Regions from separate parts of the Homo sapiens genome. Here region 1 is linked to region 2. Evidence: promoter capture Hi-C in human tissues and cell types (Jung and others, 2019). All regions are on one chromosome and are shown on one strand. Each heading gives the region's core, a stretch centred on a gene start or on the middle of the fragment in contact. The rest is flanking DNA. Distances are from core to core; before and after follow the strand shown. Region 1 has its middle 37 kb from the start of TMED3. Region 2 holds the start of FAH (fumarylacetoacetate hydrolase).

Evidence for each region. The method cuts DNA at HindIII sites, captures the fragments that hold promoters and counts their contacts. A contact is called where the count stands out against the background at its distance.
Region 1: a contact is called between a fragment that was not itself captured here and the fragment with the promoter of FAH in region 2, in 2 of the 25 tissues and cell types used here (dorsolateral prefrontal cortex and lymphoblastoid cells).

Annotation. Positions count from the first base shown.
Region 1 is chr15:79,344,631-79,351,329 of GRCh38, reverse strand. It overlaps a transcript of TMED3 not described here. Among named protein-coding and RNA genes, the nearest start is that of TMED3, 37 kb to the right of the region's middle. The HindIII fragment of the contact is 4,778 bases long and covers 2,798-6,699 here.
Region 2 is chr15:80,151,741-80,157,354 of GRCh38, reverse strand. It overlaps FAH (fumarylacetoacetate hydrolase), which reads right to left and starts at 4,356. Exons shown (of 14, transcript NM_000137.4): 1 at 4,220-4,356. The coding sequence starts at 4,300. RefSeq lists a silencer at 4,368-4,927. The HindIII fragment of the contact is 10,148 bases long and covers 1,651-5,614 here.

The sequences.
Region 1 (6,699 bases), core at 3,937-6,436, 810 kb after region 2:
TGAGAAGCCTCAGAATATCAGAGCCGTAGACTCTTGGAAATCATTCAGTTCTGGTTCAACATCCTCATAGCACAGCCTAGTAAACTGAAGCCCAGAATAGACAAGTGGCTTGCCCATGGTCACCTGACCAGTTAGTAGTCATTATGTCAAGTTATTTTGACTTAAAAATAATATTGAGCCTCCTATCATGATGGCAACTATTAAAGAATGATAGGACTTTTTAAATACTAGACAATAAATACAGTAACATTGAGGTCACTTAGCCATGACTCCTCATTTTATTGAGGAATAAACGTGGCTTACAGCACACTTGTCACACAGCAAGTTAGCAGCCAGAGTGGACAAAAGAGACCATAACCCATATCTCTTCTAATTTGACCAGGTGCCTGCTGTGCCATCAAACATTTCTAAACACAGCTTCTGCTTTTCTGGTGAGAGGTGGTGGCAAAGGGAGCTGATGTACAGCAAAACCTGAGATCAGTGAAGTCTGACTTTGACTCCCCAGACTTCTTGCTTTTTGGCCAGCCATGCTCTCCCTCAGCAGTGTCCTCCATTCTCCCATTCATTGTGATGGTTAATATTGAGTGTCAACTTGACTGGATTGAAGGGTGCAAAGTATTGTTCCTGGGTGTGTCTGTGAGGGTGTTGCCAAAGGAGATTAACATTTGAGTCTGTGAACTGGGACAGGCAGACCCACCCTCAACCTGGGTAGGCACCATTTAATCAGCTCCCAGCACAGCTAGAATAAAGCAGACAGAAGAAGGTGGACAGAGAGCAGACTTGCTGAGCCTTCATTTTTCTCCCATGCTGGATGCTTCCTGCCCTCAAACATTAAACCCCAAGTTCTTCAGCTTTTGGACTCTTGAACTTACACCAGTGATTTGCCAGAGGCTCTTGGGCCTTCAGACATAGACTGAAGGCTGCACTGTTGGCTTCCCTACTTTTGAGGTTTTGGGACTCGGACTGGCTTCCTTGTTCCTCAGCTTGCAGACGGCTTATCATGAGACTTCACCTTGTGATTATGTGAGTCAATTCTCCTAATAAACTCGCTTTCATATATACATATATCCTGTTACTTCTGTTCCTTTGGAGAACCCTAACACATTCATAATCCATCTAACCGTCCAGCTATTCATCCATTTATCTATCCAACTATCCATCCGCACAGCCATCTATCCATCTATTCATCCTTCAACCCAGCCCTTCAACAAATATTCACTGAGCCTTCTCTGTGCTGGCCACTCCTCTAGGCACTGGGATACAGCCACAAACACAATAGCCAAGCTACTTATCCTGATGCAGTTTATGTTCTACTGGAAGGAAACAGAAAACAAACAGGAAGAAAATAGAGAGGGATACATGTAAAACAGAGAATTAAAATGGATCCTGGATACAGAGTAAGTGAGTGGCATCTATGGATGAGTGGTCAGAGAAGCTTTCTGAAAGGTGAGTTTCAAACAGGGATTAATGTCCTCCAATAGGAGGATGTTGAAAGATGGAGCCACTGAAAAATCAGATAGAGCCTTCTAGGCGGAAGAACAGCTGTTGCCCTGGCCCTGAGGGAAGGATGAGTGCGGCTTGTTCTAGGAGCAGAAAGAAGCCAGGCGGCTGGAGCAGGGAGGCAGCTGGGGAGCTGGGAGGAGACAATGAGGCAGAAAAGGATCAGAACATGTGATACATGCATGTCCTTTTGTGTGCCCAGAAGAAGCATTCTGAATATGACAGAGGCCTAGGGAGGGTTGCAGTTATGGCAGTAGTGGTAGGTTTTTAGGGAGAGACGAATAGGATAATTAAATTAAATTTTATTTGTTTTTTTACTGCATAATGTAACACACAGGTGGTTCAAAATTCACAAGAAAAAGAGGGACATGAATGAGATGTAAATCTCCACCCACAGCCTGTCTCCCAACTACCCAGTTTCTCTTCCCAGATGCAATCTCCATTACCAGAGATGATAAAAAAGTATCTTATACTTTAAAAAAAAATTAAGTTGACAGATAACATTCTACATTTTTATCATGCACCATATGATGTTTTGAAGTATATAAGCATTGTGGAATAATTAAATCTAACTAATTAACAAATGTATTATCTCACAGTTATCATTTTTGTCGTGAGGACACATAAATCAAAAGTATAATGAGGTATCACTTCACTCCAGTTAGAATGGCTATCATCAAAAAGACAAATGAAGCCAGACACAGTGGCTCACACCTGTAACCCCAGCACTTTGGAAGGCAGAGGTGGGTGGATCACTTGAGCCCAGGAGTTCGAGACCACCCTGGGCAATATAGGGAGACCCTGTCTCTACAAAAAATCAAAAAACTAGTGGGCATGGTGGTGTGCACCTGTAGTGCCATCTACTGGGGGTGGGGGAGGGCCCGAGGTGGGAGGATCACCCACCTGGGAGTTCTAGGCTTCAATAAGCCATGATAGCACCACTGTACTCCAGCTGGGCTGACAGAGTGAGAACCTGTCTCAAAACAAAACAAAAACACAAGTCACAACAAGTATTGTGAGGATATGGAGAAAAAGGAACCCTTACACCCTGTTGTTGGGAATGTAAATTACTGCAGCCATTATAGAAAAGAGGTTCCATTTTAAAGGTTCCTCAAAAAATTAAAAACAGAACTACTGTATGATTCAGCAATCACACTACTGGGTACATGTATACTTTCTACCCAAAAGGGAGAATTCCATACATTATGGTATGCACCTCTTGTTTTTCACCTAACAGTGTATTTTGGAGATTGATTTCTTCCATTACACAGAGCACTATCTAATTTTTAGTAATAGCTGCTTAAAATTTCATTGTTGAAATATACCATTGTTTGCTAATGAGGTTTCTATTGATTTGTCTCCCTATATGAGCATTTCCATCAGCATTCTTATGTGTAAATTCACTTTCGGTTTTTTACTATTGCAAACAACAGGGTAGTGACTATATTTATATACATATATTTGACAAGCATGAACATGTAGCAATAAGAAAAATTCCTAGAATTGCTGGCTTAAAAAGTATATATGTTTTCACATTGATAAGTGTCACCATTTTGCCCTTTGAAGGGTGCTGCAGGCCACTATCTGTGTGACAAGTGACCTGTCATCTGTGTTAGGCAAGTGACTTAACCGGCAAGTTTCTTCAGAGGGCACTGTGCCCTCTTCAGGGGTTAGAGTGAGGGTTAATGATTTAATGCATGTAACTTATTGAAAATATTGCCTGGCAACAGGGTAAGTGCTTAATAATTGTTAGGTCTCATTTTTATTATAGAGCTCTTATCATCTTAATTTCCCACAAGCAATCTATGACTGGGCATCATTCTCCACACTTTGGACAATCTAGTGTTTTTTCAAACATTTTGATCTGGGTAAAATCAGCTATTTTTGTTAACTTTCAAAATGATATGCTTTTTTGGGTATAAGAGTTTTTTCCCTTTTTCTGTGTCATCTCTGATTTCTTTGAGCAGTGTTTTGTAGTTATCCTTGTAGAGATCTTTTACCTCCCTGGCTAGCTGTATTCCTAGGTATTTATTCTTTTTGTGGCAACTGTGAATGAGATTGCATTCCTGGATTTGCCTCTCAGCTTGACTGTTGTTGGCGTATAAGAATGTTAGTAATTTTTGCACATTGATTTTGTATGCTGAGACTACGCTGAAGTTCTTTATTAGTATAAGGGGCTTTTGAGGTGAGACTATGGGGATGTTTAGATATAGTATCATGTCATCTGCAAACAAGGATAGTTTGACTTCCTCCCTTCTTATTTGGATGCACTTTATTTCTTTCCCTTGCCTGATTGCCCTGGCCGTGACTTCCAATACAATGTTGAATAGGAGTGGTGACAGAGGGCAGCCTCGTCTTGTGCCAGTTTTCACAAAGAATCCTTCCATCTTCTGCCCATTAAGTATAATGTTGGCTGTGGGTTTGTCATAGATGGCTCTTATTATTTTGAGGTATTTTCCTTCAATACCTAGTTTACTAAGAGTTTTTAACATGAAGCAGTGTTGAATTTTATTGAAAGCCTTTTCTGCATCTCTTGAGATAATCATGTGGGTTTTTTGTCTTTAGTTCTGTTTATGTAATGAATCATGTTTATTGATTTGCATATGTTGAACAAACCTTGCATCCTAGGGGTAAAGCCTACTTGATCATGGTGGGTAAGCTTTTTGATGTGCTGCTGGATTCAGTTTGCCAGTATTTTGTTGAGGATTTTTGCACTGATGTTCATCTAGGAAATTGACCTGAAGTTTTCTTTATCTGTTGTGTCTCTGCCGTGTTTTGGTATCAGGATGATGTTGGCCTCAGAATGAATTAGGAAGGAGTCCCTCCTCCTTAAATTTTTGGAGTAGTTTTAGCAGAAATGCTACCAGATCGTCTTTGTACATCTGGTAGAATTCAGCTGTGGAATACTTCTGGTCCTGGGCTTTTTTGGTTAGTAGGCTATTTATTACTGGCTCAATTTCAGAGCTCATTATTGATGATGTTTCAAGTAAGGCCACACACATACAACTATCAGGTCTTCTACAAACCTGATAAAAACAAGCAATGAGGAAAGGATTCCCCATTCAATAAATGGTGCTGGGAGAATTCGCTAGCCATAGGCAGGAGATTGAAACTGGACCCCTTCCTTACACCATATACAAAAATCAATTCAAGATGGAATAAAGACTTAAATGGAAAACCCAAAACTATAAAAACCTGATTAGTTTGTTCTCATGCTGCTAATAAGGATGTACTCAAGACTGGGTAATTTATAAAGAAAAAGAGGTTTAATGAACTCACAGTTCCCATGGCTCAGGAGGCCTCACAATCATGGTGGAAGGTGAAAGAGGAGCAAAGGCACATATATATGGTGGCAGGTAAGAGAGCATGTGCAGGGGTACTGCCCTTTATAAAACCATCAGATCTTGTGAGACTTATTCACTATCATGAGAACAGGATGGTGGGAATAGCCCCCATGATTCAATTATGTCCACCTGGTCCCTCCCACGACACATGGGAATTATGGGATCTACAATTTAAAATGAGATTTGGGTGGGGACACAAAGTCTAACCATATCAAAACCCTATAAGACAACCTAGGCAATACCATTCTGGACATAGGAACAGGCAAAACTTCATGACAAAGACACCAAAAGCAATTGTAACAAAAGCAAAAACTGACAAATGGGATCTAATTAAACTAAAGAGCTTCTGCACAGCAGAGGAAACTATCAACAGAGTGAAGAGCCAACCTACAGAATGGGAGAAAATTTTTGCAAACTATGCATCTGACAAAGGTCTAACTCCAGCATCTATAAAGAACTTAAACAAATTTACAAGAAAAAATACAAACAACTCCATTAAGAAGCGGGAAAATGACATAAACAGATACTTTTCAAAAGAAGGCATACACGTGGCCAACAATCTTATAAAAAAGAGCTCAACATCACTGATGATTACAGAAATGCAAATCAAAACCATGAGAAGATGTCATCTTACACCAGTCAGAATGGCTATTAGTAAAAGGGAAAAAATAACAGATGCTAGTGAGGTTGTGGAGAAAAAGGAATGCTTATACACTGGTGGTGGGAATGTAAATTAGTTCAACCATTGTGGAAGACAGTGTGATGATTCCTCAAAGACCTATAAGCAGAAATATTATTTGACCCAGCAATCCCACTACTGGGCATATACCCAAAGGAATATAAATTGTTTCGTTATAAAGACACATGTATGTGTATATTCATTGCAGCACTACTCACAATAGCAAAGACATGGAATCAACAACCTAAATGCCCACCAATAATAGACTGGATAAAGAAAATGTGGTACATATAAACCATGGAATACTATGCAGCCAGAAAAAGAACAAGATCATGTCATTTGCAGGAACACGGATGGAGCTGGAGGTCATTATCCTTAGCAAACTAATGCAGAAACAGAAAACCAAATACTGCATGTTCTCACTTATAAGTGAGAGCTAAATGATGAGAACACATGGACACATAAAGGGGAACAACACACTATGGCCTATCAGAGGGTGAAGGGTGGGAAGGGAGAGGATCAGGAAAAATAACTAATGGGTACTAGGCTTAATATCTGGGTGATGAAATAATCTGTACAACAAACCCCCATGACACCAGTGTACCTATGTAACAAACCTGCACATGTACCCCTGAACTTAAAAGTTAATAAAAAATAAAGTAAATAAATTTTTAAAAAGAGCTTTCTATTTTTCTTCCCTGTCTGGATCTTTGGCCCAGTCTTTCTATTGAGTTGGTGGTCCTCTTCTTCCTGATTGGTAGCTCTCTATATTTATATGTCTTTCATTGTCCCCCTGTTTTCTCTCTTTCTGTGAGCATTTCCATTAAATTCCCATATGCTGCTCTGTCTCTCAAATTATAAAACAAAAACAGTCTCTTCCACATCTCCTTCCGGCTACTGCTCAAACACAGCAAAGCTTTAAAGTTAAACTCCTATAAAACATTGTCTCCCTTTCACACTGCCTCATCTCACTGGGCTCACTACAGTGAAGTCTTTGCCTCCAATGTTTCGTACAAATTACTCTTGTTAAGTCACCAACGATCTCGACCTTGCCAGATCCAAAGTTCAGTTACCAGTTCTCTTCTTGCTGGCCCTCTGGGTTGAATGAGGTTCCCCCAAATTCATGTCTTCCTGGAACCTGGGAATGTGACCTTAAAAGAAAAAGGGTTTTCTGCA
Region 2 (5,614 bases), core at 3,107-5,606:
TGAGCCAGGCTTCCAGCTCTCCTGAACCACCAGCTTGGCCATTTCAGTGCCAGCGAGCTTAGTGGTGGGATTATTGGCTGGCCTTATCTCCATTGGCTGCTCACTGGGGTGGGCTGAGAAAAGATGACCATTTCTCCACGCATGTCAGCTCTTGGAATCGGGGTAGACCAGAGCCATACTCCTCATCTGAGGTCCCAGCAGAGCCTACCCTAGAAGAGGCTGCCTGGAGAGCTTAGTTACTCATTCTCAGCCCCACTGCCAACTCCCTGGGCCTCAGTCTTCCCCTCCTGAAAATGGCAAATCTGCTTTAGGCAAAGAGCTGAACCACCTGAATCCAAGTGGCTTTCCATTCAGGGAATGTGCAGGGCAGACCCTTGGACCACATCTCTGACCCTGGTCCCCACACCCCAGCTGAAGGCAAGAAGGAGTCACCACCAGTAAGCAACTTCCAAAATGGGGTCACAAGTGCAGCTGCCTGCTGCCTCAAATGCAAACAAAGCCTAGAAGCTTCAAACTTGTGCTTCAAACTATGACCTGAGGACCCAGAAAAAGTCTGAGAGAGTGAGTCCCTCTACTTTCAACCTTGGGAGTTATTTTCTTCAGCACAAAACTAGAGGGGGCTCACAGGTCAGATCCAGGATTCCTGGGCTCCAAGTCTGCTCCCTCATTCACCATCTTATCACCTTGGACAAGTCTCTGGGCCTCAGTTTCCCATCTGCAACTTGAGGGAAACAAACTAAGGAGGGAGACCGCATTTGTCTAACTTCAAGAGAATGAATGTGCATTGCCTTTGTTTTAAAATAGTTGGTCATATCTGATATAAAGTTGTCCAAAGGAAAGCATTACCCAACTCCCAGCCTGACATAGAGGGGGAAGCATGGGATTGGTGTGGGCGAAGGATTACCCAGGTGCCGAGGCAAGAGACTGAAGGCATAAACTGTAGCTATACTGCTATACAGTTGTAATACAAATTAGATATACAGATGATCATGGACAATTATCGATTATTAGTATAAACATTATTAATCATTAGTTTTTAATATTACTCTTTATTGTAGTACAATATAACCTAGGAATAACCGGTGGGTATAGGGTCAGGTACTGAAGGGACATTCTGAGAAGTGACCTAGAAGGCAAGAGGTGAGCCCTGTCACACCCGCATAAGGGCCGCTTGAGCGCTCCTTGGTCAAGCGGTAACGCCAGTGCCTGGGAAGGCACCCATTACTTAGCAGACCGCAAAAGGGAGTCTCCCTTTCCTTGGAGGAGTCAGGGAACACTCTGCTCCACCAGCTTCCTGTAGGAGGCTGGATATTATCCAGGCCTGCCCGCAGTCATCTGGAGGCCTAAACCCCTCCCTGTGGTGCTGTGCTTCAATGGTCACGCTCCTTGTCCACTTTCATGTTCCTCCTGTACTCCTGGTTCCTCTTTGAAGTTTGTAGTAGATAGCGGTAGAAGAAATAGCGAAAGTCTTAAAGTCTTTGATCTTTCTTATAAGTGCATAGAAGAAAATGCTGACTTATGCTGCCTTCCCTCTCTGCTTCGGCTACCTTAGAGGGAAGAGCCCCCGTCCCATGATCACATGACTTGCTTGACCTTATCAATCACTTGGATGACTCACCCTCCCTACCCTGCCCCCCTTGTCTTGTGTGCAATAAATATCAGTGTGCCCAGCCATTCGGGGCCACTACCGGTCTCTGTGTCTCAGTGGTAGCAGTGCCCCGGGCCCAGCTGTTCTCTCTTTATCTCTTTGTCTTGTGTCTTTATTTCTTACAATCTCTCGTTTCCGCACACAGGGAGAAAACCCGCTAAGCCCCGTAGGGCTGGACCTTACAGATTGGGAGGCTGACAGATGTGGGGATCAACCCCATATCTGCCTCTTACTGGCTGTGAGATCTGGAGCATGATGCTTTGCCTCTCTGGACCTCAGTTTCCTCATCTGTAGAATGGGGACAATAACTTCACAGTAGGTTTATTGTGAGAATTTAATTAATATCTGTAAATCTCTCACCACAAGAACAGACACAGGGTAGACGCTATTCATGCCACAAAGATTTAGAGAGCATCTTCTCAGTACCAGCATTACACAAAGGCTGCTGAGGCCCTGGGAACAGTGACGTGGTTCCTTCTCTCCAGAAGCAAAAGGAAACACAGGGTGTGGTGAGAGATAACCAAGGCTGGGCCGCAGCGGGGAGCTCATTCAGAGAGGGTGCTTAGGAGGTGACATTTAAGCTGAGTCCCAAAGAGTGAGAAGGGGCCAAGCATATAGAGAGCAGAAGGACGAGTATTCCAGGCAGAAGGAACAACATGTGCTAAGGCCTGAAGGCAGGAAGCTGCTCTTAGCACATCTCAGAGACTCAAAGGCAGCCAATGTGGCTGGAGAAAGCAGAGGCCAGGAGGCAGCAGCACAGCCAGACCACGGGGACTTTAACAAGGCACCCGGCAAAACCAGCTCCACACTACTACAACCCCGTTCTCAGAGGCCACCACCCCTACCTTCACAGAGAGCACCCCTGTACACCTTACTAGTCCATCAACCAGAAATGGAAGGAAGGCGTCTCCTGTGTCTTTGATGCCAACTCGGAGCCCAGGCAAAATCTGGACCAGAGTTGGGGTTCATAAGCATTCGCTGAATAAAAAAAAATGAATAAAGTGATGGCAGGATTCATTGTTATTCCACTCAAATTAGGAAAGGCTGACTGCTGACATGGGGGAAGGGAGGTTTTGCCTTGGCAACTAGTCTTGCCTGGCAAGGCAGCCATCACGGTTGGAATGTCCAATGCCTGCAGAGAAAGCTTCAGAAGAGGCTTGTTCAGCTGGAAGGCCAAAGGGCCAACTCTCCACCCCCAGCACTGTATCAGAGGACAGCGGAATGGGGCTCTCTCTTCCAGACATCTGTAGTGGCTGCCCTGCACATTCTGATGTTGAAACAGCGGGACATGGTGTCTGAAAACACCTAGCCACACTCTAACGGATATTAATTCGATTCCCCTGAGAAAGCAAGTCAGAGCTCCCTACTGGGGTGTGCCTGCCTCTCACAAATGTTTCTGTCTAATGGATTTGTGCTCCCAGGAAAGGTGAGGGAGGACACATCTGCCGAGGGCAAAGTGTTTGAGGAGGGCAGAGGGAGGGCTCTGTCTGCAGAAAGGTTGTTGGCCATCACAAGTTAAGATTTAATGTGCCTCAGATTGTGTCCTCCAGGGGATTGAGTGTCCACTTTCTGTATCCTTGCAACATCTGGTCAGCCCGGCCAGATGTGAAACCACAAGTTGACTCTTCTAGACCAAAGCACTTACCGCAGACAGGCCCACAAAAGGCCAGCCACTTGCATCCAATGACAAGCCATGGGGGAAGGAGGGAACCCCACTTTCCAAGAAGAAGCCAACTGCCAGGCCCCTCGTTTAGCAAACATTTCCTGATTCTGGGGTTCTATGGCTTACAGAGATGAATCAGGAGTTTACCTTTAAAGTTGGGAGCAGAAATCTAAGCCAAAAATATCATCAACAAATCCAAGGGAATCTGCTTTTCCAACCTAGGGAACCTCTTATTATCTATTTGCTGATAAACCCCCAGTTTTCAAATACTTCTTTCTACCAATCAGACTACACTGACTTAGTCAAAGTTTGTTTCCCTGCCCTCTTTCTTCTGATCAGTAGGGGAATGCCAGGGAGCCCACACCAGGAGCTGAAAGAATTTCAGCTATAGGCAGAGACACTTGCCATCTTAGATCTCACAACTCTAAGCCAAGAAACGCGCGTGCCCCTCTGACCTGCTACGCATACCGGGTTATCATTTCCCGGGTTCTAGGGTTAGGGGCTATCCAGCGAGATGAACCACCAGCCCTGACCTGGCCTCTTGGGCGAGAGAAACACACCGCAACCACCTCGGAGTAGGCAGCATGCCTGTGTGCTGCAGCTTCCGGTAACAGAATCCTGCTTGCTCTGCTTGTCTGGGAGAGTGACACGATTCATTTCATTTTGCATTTAATTCTCAGCAAACCTGCGGACAATGAGGCTGAAAAGTTAAACAACGTGCACAGCTAGAAAGTTACGAGGCGGGACTCGAGCCCATAGGCACTCTCACGGAACGAATCTTAAGAGAAAAATGGCACAAGCCTCCATCCCGCCCCTCATTCCACTCCATTCCACTCCACTCCACTCCACTCCACTCCACTCCACTCCACTCCCTCCCCGCGCCCGGACGCCAAAGCCCCACTGCTCACGTCGCCTCTGGTCGAGAAGACGCCGTAGGGCAGGTTGTGGATGGGGAAGTCGGAATCCTCGGCCACCGGGATGAAGGACATGCTGAAGAGCACCCGGCACGGCTGCGGGCCTAAGGTGGCGTGCGGAGAGCAGGACTGAACTCGGCCGCTGTGGTCAGGCCCGGCCCCGCCCCCCTGCCCGCCCCCACGGCCTGTCCGGGTGACACAGCAGGGACCCCGGAGGCTCCTACCTGACTTTTGGTCTCACCGTGAACACCCCGCCCCCGAACCCCGAGCCCTGCCCCTCCCCCCTACCCTGACCCCCGCCAGCTCCAGGTCCTCCACAGTCTCGCCCGCCCTTCCAGAGCCCCGCCCCGCCCCTGGCCCCGCCCCCGTGGGCCTCAGGTCCTCCAGTCTCTCCTCCCTCCCTGAGCCCCGCCCCTCCCCTTGCCCCGACCCCGCGAGCCCCAGGTCCTCCACAGTCTCACCCTCCCTCCCTGAGCCCCGCCCCTCCCCTCGCCCCGCCCCTCCCCTCGCCCCGCCTTGCAAGCCCCAGGTCATCCAGTCTCTCCCTCCCTCCCTGAGCCCCGCCCCTCCCCTGGCCCGGGTACCCGAGAGTCCCAGGCCCTCCAGTCTTGCCTCACTCCCCGAGCCCCGCCCCTCCCCTGGCCCCGCCCCCGTCCTGATCCCCGCCCTGTCCGCGAGTCCACGTGGGGGAGATCTGGTTCCAGCCCCCGCTCGGGGCAGCTAGCTGGTCCTACCGAGAGCAAACCCCAGCTTAGCATTTAAGGCTCTGCCCTGCATGACTCCAGCCTCGCTCGCCCCGGCTGCTGCCCTGCTCTTCAGCTCAACAGAACTCTTGTCCGCTTCCTGGAAACACTTTCTCCCCAAGAGCTGCTCCCTGAGCTTCAGAAGAACACCCAGTCGCGTCCTTTCTGCCTTCATACCATGATGCTCCGTCCAGCTATGACACTTCCACTTGTATGTCAGAGAAGGGGACAGTTAGGCCTGTTTGGAAGGCTTCAATTAATGAGAATTAATATTCTAAAAAATATAACTCACCTGTTTCACATGCCAGTAGTAAAATGACGTTGACAAGATGCTCAACCTTGGACAAGTTACTTAAACTTTCTCTACCTCAGCTTCCTTCTCTGTATAATGTTGATGATAATAGTTCCTACTTCACAAAGTTGATATAAGAATGGAATGAATTAATATTTGTGAAGCACCTAGAATAGTGCCTGGCATATACAGGTTATGTGTGTGTGGAAAGAGAGAGAAGGGAGGGAAAAAGAGGAAAGGAGGGGAGGGGGATAAAGGAAAGGAAAGATAAAAGAGAAATAGGAGAAGAGAGAGAGGGAGAAAGAAAAGAAGGAAGACAGGAAAGAAGGGAAAGGCAGACTATCTTAGGGTGGG